Regions from separate parts of the Homo sapiens genome. Here region 1 is linked to region 2. Evidence: promoter capture Hi-C in 16 types of primary human blood cells and fetal thymus (Javierre and others, 2016). All regions are on one chromosome and are shown on one strand. Each heading gives the region's core, a stretch centred on a gene start or on the middle of the fragment in contact. The rest is flanking DNA. Distances are from core to core; before and after follow the strand shown. Region 1 overlaps VANGL1 (VANGL planar cell polarity protein 1). Region 2 holds the start of CD101-AS1 (CD101 antisense RNA 1).

Region 1 (3,398 bases), core at 614-3,113, 1.4 Mb after region 2:
CCTCCTTCTCTAGCCCCAGCTCCTTTAAGGTAGAGTCTTAGGGCTTTGGCAGAGCCCAGTATATCTGTTGGTACTCACCCTTTACATGCCCTGTTTTGCCAAATTCCTACTCATCACTCCTTAATTTAAATACTGCTCCTTTCAAGAGGCCTTTCCTGATCCTTCAATCTCAGTCAGGCTCTTCTCTAGTACCCTGTACTCTTCCTTTCTATCCAACTTCCAGTGATACATTTGTTTGTGTGATCACTTATTGTCTAGTTTCTTCACAGGCTGTAAGCTCCATGAGGGCAGAGGCACTTTCATGACTGCCTGTCTTTCCAGCTCCTAGGACATTATGGGTACCCTATAAATGTCTGCTGAATGAAGGGTTTTGTGGCAGATCTTAGGACATGAGGCCATAGATTCATTGTGGAAGAAACTTTAGAAATTATCTATTTTAAATCCTTAGTTTTAGAGGTGGCAAAAAAAAAGATGCAGATATTAGATAGAGGCGTGATACCAGAACTATCAAAAAAAAAAAAAAAAAAGCTATACTACTGGCTCGCATGGCAGTCCCACTCAGGGGCAGAGTTCGTATGCCAGACACACTGAGTAAAAATCAGCAGCAGCCTCTTTCAGCCACTGCCCAAGAGCATCTTGCCTCACCGGTCACCCACCCCTTAAGAGTGTATTGCTTGGCACTGCTTGGGTAGGGGCTGGAGGCAAATATTAGGACACGGCCAGGCTCATTGAACCACATTGCATGCAGGCAAGGTCAACAATGGGAGATAGGTGCACAGAGTGCTTCTAAGTGGCAGTGTCCTAAATTCTGGACTTCCTAGGCAAAAATGTCAGAAAGAACCTCCTTCACCACCCTTTATCAAAAGCAAAATGAAGATAATCAGCCTCAAACAGAATTCTCTCCTAAAGTCATGTTCACTCATATAAAAATCCTACTACTTAATATGAAAACACAGTGTTTAGCAAATCGTATGAAGGAAATAATATGTTATGATAATGACAGTGGTAAACATAAGCTAACCTTCGCAAAAAGGAAATTATAAAAACATCAACAGCTCTGCCTAGAGCTATTAAGTAATTAAGGGAGCTCTGGTTTGGAAAGTTACTTTGTAAGGGTTACAGAGACACGCACTGAATTTAAAGAGAGATTTTGCTTCCTATGCAGTAAGTAGATCTATTTCCAAGGAAAAGTGGTGTCTGGTACAACCATGCTTATATATGCTGTGTATATTATTCTGAATATTTGATTTTTACATAGAATTCTGCAGAGATTATGCTATTAATTATTATTTATATTATGTCTTGAAGCTAACATTCTTCTTAGGGGTACCCATTCTTAATTAAATGGCACTCAAGGGGAAAGTGACAATTGAAATAATTTTGTTTAGAGTCAACTATTCTTCTAGAGAGTAGCAATGAGCCCAAATTGTGGGTGAAGAGCATTCAAATCCTGGCTCTAGTACTTAGCTGTGTGACCTCAGAACAAGTTACTTAACTGCTCTCTGCCTCAGTTTCCCTAACTGTAACAACAGATTTTATTTTACTTATATTATAGATCTGTGGTAGGTATTAAATGAGATAATTCATAAAAATTATTAGAACAGTGCCTAGCACGTGGTAGGCACTCACAGCTGTCAACTACTACTAGTATTCACTAGAGTAAAATTCCTTCAGTTAGGAAGAACTGAAGGGGTTGTATGGCATATAACTTCTGTATCATTTTCACTGAACTTATACACATTTTTCTGGTCTCTGCTACCACCTTTAACTGCTACTATTAGCTATAGCTGAGTAACAAGTGATTTCTATTCTGTTTCTTACAGGCCTCTATTTACCATCCCCAGGTTGGAAGCAAATGTCAGAGAGACCAGAGGAAACCGTGTGTGTTTTAGTGGGTTTATTTGGAGGGGCATGGGCTGGAAAGGAGCGGGCAGAGATGCAGGGCAAATCTATAAAACATTTTGAACTTGTGGCCTATAAACCACCAAACATCATGCAGGTCACTGATGTGAGGATCTGCTGGGCTTATGGCATTTGTGACAAACCCAATGATTCTTTTATTACAACAGCTTATAAATGAATGATTCTGGGTCATTATTTACAAGGAAAGAAAATGTCAACTTTGTTTTACTTGTTTCGCCAATGATTTCAACTCACCTTGCCAGAATAACTTCTCTTGGCTCCAGTCATTAATTACCCCTGAAACACCTCCAGCAGCTGGGTACAGATTTCTGAAGAGGTGTGAATCGTTAACATGTCTGGAGTTATGTGATGTATATTTGCTTGCAAGTGACTCCCTTGTTCCCTGCCAGATATTTAAACTTCAGAAAAATAGATCTCATGAGTACTATCTCCTCTGTAAATCTGATGGTACAGAGTCTGATCACTGTTGTCCTGTAACTGGGATTCAGAAGGACACTGCTAGAGACAACAGCACACACATGTATCCTTGCATCAAACTTCAATACTGCTAACATCAAACCAATACTGCTAACACCAAACCAATATTGCTAACAGAAACATGGTCCAATCACAAGCCCACCTAATCTTTTCCATCTTAAGGAAAATAGAATAGCATGATGCCCAAATCACATGCCCTATACAGCGAGACCCTAACCAGCTAGCTGATTTTACAGAGATGATGGTAATAGTCTAACAGTTTCTAGTTGTCAAGTGTTTACTATGTGTTAGATGCTGTTTTAAGTCACTTACATGTAATATCTCACTTAATCCGCATAACAAGTGTTTAAGAAAAATAAGACATTAATATCATGTTAGTTAGGGAAACCAGACTGCCACAGGAGCCAGGGCTTAAACGTTGAGAGTCTAACTCCAGAACCTGTGTTCTTAGCTACAGAAAATTGACAGCACTGTAGCAATTACTAGAATTGTTTGTTTATATAGAGGAGTATAAGCAACAATCACAAATTGTCCCAAACCACATATAACCCCACTAAGAATTTTGCAATTTCAACTTCTACTCACAGGTTCAGTGTTCCAAGCATCGTGGGGCACTCAGGAGAAAAGAAATGGATCTAAAATAGTTCTAACTCCCAATGAGCTCACAGCCCCAATGTGGAGACCTCCAATTAAAACACAATGTGACAAGGGCCCATCCCACCAAAATAGCTGATAAGGCCTAGGGTAGCAAGCACAGTGTGTGTATATAAGTGTGTTAAGGGGATGATGAAGGGGAGGATGCCTTCTTCATTCAACACATTTATCCTTCAAACAAAGGGTGACATGGAATTGTTGCTTGGTAAAGAAACTTTAAATTTCCTTTATGGTTTTGTCCTGTTGCTTAATACATAAGACAATAAAAATGTACTGCTTGGCAAGCAGTCCTTACAAATATATCACTCTCAAAATTCTTCTCCCATTTTACTTACAAATTAAGT
Region 2 (3,326 bases), core at 70-2,569:
ATTTTACAGGTAGGGGAACCATCGGCCCAGAGAGGGGGGTAACCAGCCTCGGGTCACACAGCCAGAATTAGCTGGGCGTCTTCCGAACACGCCACGCTGCCCTGGGATCACCAATTGCTTAAAGGGTCCTGACACCGCAAACTAGGGCCCCACCACTCCTCGGCCCTGTGACGCCCGACAGCGGGGAGCGGGAAGCTCCTCTCGGGAGGCCCCGGGCAGCCACAGGGAGTGGGGCCCAGCTCCAGACCTACTCGGTGGCCCGCACGAAGCTGCACGTGTCTGCCCGGCACACGTAGAAGCTCTTTCCTTTATTCGGGCCATCGCGGACGCCGGTCTTAAGAAAGCAGAAAGTCCCTGAAGAGAGAAGAAAGTGAACAACGATTACGCCACGCTAAATCAACAGGCCCCGGGACGCTGAGACCCTAGCCCCTTACCGTGCTCTGGACACCTAACTTCTTCCATTTCGCTGGGTCCCCCAAGTTCCACAAAGCCCCGCCCCCAATTCTGCTTCCGCCTTTTACTCCGCCCTCTTTGTTCAGGAACCAACCATCACTCAGCTCTTGCAGTCTTAATCCCTCCCATAATTCTCCGCCCTTGGCCTTCACCCGTCCTAGCCGCTATCAGCCAATCATATAGGAACTTCGCTCACCTCCAACCAATCACAGCTGCCCTCAGGTATGGCGCGCGCCGAAATCAAATACGGAGCCAGGGGGCGTAAAGGACCCGGCTTTTGCAGGCTGGGGCGTGGCTGAGGCTGGGGAGAAGCTTAGAAGGTGGCGGGGCTTCTGGAGGAAAAGAAGCTTCGATTTGCAGGTCTTGGAAGACGGAAGGGCAACTCTTGTTTACGTTTAAAACCGAGAGGCGGCCCTAGGGGTAGCGCCAGTTAGCAGGCGCTGAAAGGCCCTGGCTTCGTGGGTGTCTCTGAGCCAGGCTGGCGCTCGTGCGCGCTGGGCTCCGCGCTCAGTCGCTGGGGTGGGAGGCCAGGGGAAGCCGCCGCTGCAGGCCGAGCCGCGAGATTTGCAGTGCAGGAGCCGAAGCGGCGGGCATGGTGGGAGGTCCTTGGAAGCTGCTGCGGGGAACTGAAACGGCTCTGATAGGCAGGCACAAAGACTTCTCTAGGACCCCCTACAATGCTTTACGTTTGCCTCGTGCTTTAGATTTCACAAAGTGCTTACACATAACACGACCCTCCTCACTCGACCTGGTGAGATGGGTAGCATTTTGTGGAAGATTCCGAGACTCAAGTTTGAGAGACTCACCCAAGGTCAGAGTTGGCGAGTGGGCGGTCCGTGGACAGGTGCGCAGGTCTCAGCGCCATTTGGCCCGCGCTGCTGCTTCCTGTGTGTACTGGATGTTCTCTAGGCTCGCCCAGCGTGGAAGCCCCGAGTTACCAGCCGCAACGTGGAAACCACAGAAGGGGAAATAGATGACTTTTGGTGAAGGCGAATTTTACTTTATCATTTTGTATTGTCAAACTTTTTTTTACTATTATGCTTTTGTAATTTTAAAAATCGAAGACGAGGTTAAATAGAAGAAAGGGGACAGTTCCCTTCTATTTAACTTCATCCTCGATTTTTAAAATTTGAAGTTGTAATCAAAACTATTAGTAAACAGAGAGGAATAGATATTAGATTTATTGCAATAGAAATAGTTTCATATTGCAGCTATTGAGGACCATATGTCCCAGACATATGGTGTGGCACCTGCACTGTTCTTATGGGGGCCGTAGAACAGAAAATCTGTAATGTCTAGGAAATCTGGGCGATGTGATAAATGTACATGTTATGGGGATCCGGAGGAAGGGAGACAAACCTGAGGTATCATTTATTAATTAAACAGTACTTACTAAATAGCTTTTTTGTGCCCGTTGTGGACTAGGTGCTTGAGAAATGTAAAATTCATTCATTCACACACACAAAGTTTGAAACAACTATTCTAAGCACAAGGAACTTACTCAGTATTTTGAGGAGACTGAACTAGTACATGTTGAACACTTAAATAACAATATAAAATAGTATTTAAATGTCAAAATGAATGGAGTTAGCAGTAACTCTCTAGGACTAGAGAAAAATGGAATTTCCAAAGTGAAGTTCCTTTATACATAACTACCCTTCCGAAACTTAGATGAACTTAGAGATAAGACAGGAACAACAAATAGGTAGAAGCATTTTCATTATTCCAAGATTGTTATTCTTGCAAATGATGTATTTGTACATGTTTAATAGATGCTGTATTGGAGGTAGTATACCATGAATACAGGATTTGCAGAAAGAGGGGCATGGTAATTAATTATTTCTTGAATAATTTTCGAAACAAGGCAAAATCGGGGCCTCTTAAATATCCCGTTAAGGAAGAAGCTCCTCCTCTGCAAGTACCCAAGTCGGTATCTCCAGTCCAACCTCACAAAAGTGTGCACAGCCAAATCACAGACAGGAGGAATATTTCTTCCATAAATTAAAAATATACTAGATCAAAATGTTAAGTCCCTGGACAACTTATTCCACCTCATCATATTTACAAGATTGAAAAAAATAAGTTTGAGATTGGACGAAAGATGGTCATAACTGGAAACATTTTTAAAATTAATTTTTATGCCCGTTGAGTATGGTGGTGGGCACCTGCGGTCCTAGCTACTCAGGAGGCTGAGGTGGGAGGATGGCTTGAGCCCACAAGTTTGAGGCTACAGTGAGCTGTGATTGTGCCACTGCACTCTAGCCTTGGTGACAGAGTGAAACTTTGTCTCTTAAAAAAAAACTTATGCCTATTGAAATAAATAATAATGAATTATACAACATACACTTTTCAAAATATACACATGTATTGGTGTATGTGTATTAATTTTTATTCTTAATTTATATTTTAAATTTATATTGTTAATTAGCCTACAGACCCCCGGAGAGACCTTGGGAGAATGTGCTTTATGGATCTCTATTTTGAGTAAAGTTTAGAGTTTGTTTTTCCTTAAAGCTTGATTTATTCAAAATAATGTCTAGGCTGGGTCCTAGATTTAGATGGCTTAAAATGCACAGGTTAATTATCCAATAAATTTGTTCAGTATGGAGCTGGTCAAATGCAAAGTATATGTTGGAATTGTTCTAAAACTGGATTGTGGTAATGGGTGCACAATTGATTAAATTTACTAGACTCTTTGAATTGTACACTTTAAATAGGTGAATTCTATGACATCTAAATTATACCTTAATAAGGCTGTTTTAAAAACTAAGCAATGCCAAAATACCTATCTGCTGCATTGAAAGTAATAACTAAAATTGGTCATCTAGATATGTTGACATCCTTAAGGAAACATCCTAATGGGTGAAGAAATA

What was found. The method cuts DNA at HindIII sites, captures the fragments that hold promoters and counts their contacts. A CHiCAGO score of 5 or more calls a contact.
Region 1: a fragment that was not itself captured here is called in contact with the fragment with the promoter of CD101-AS1 in region 2 in 1 of 17 cell types (fetal thymus); the score reaches 7.5 in fetal thymus.

The regions. Positions count from the first base shown.
Region 1 is chr1:115,643,623-115,647,020 of GRCh38, reverse strand. The region is part of intron 1 of VANGL1 (VANGL planar cell polarity protein 1); the gene reads right to left. Among named protein-coding and RNA genes, the nearest start is that of VANGL1, 3.4 kb to the right of the region's middle. The HindIII fragment of the contact is 4,549 bases long and covers 1-3,398 here.
Region 2 is chr1:117,057,483-117,060,808 of GRCh38, reverse strand. It overlaps CD101-AS1 (CD101 antisense RNA 1), which reads left to right and starts at 1,319. Exons shown (of 4, transcript NR_110786.1): 1 at 1,319-1,436. TTF2 (transcription termination factor 2) reads right to left here and starts at 483. Exons shown (of 23, transcript NM_003594.4): 1 at 435-483; 2 at 252-354. The coding sequence starts at 462. RefSeq lists an enhancer at 783-942 and a silencer at 1,363-1,412. The HindIII fragment of the contact is 2,167 bases long and covers 803-2,969 here.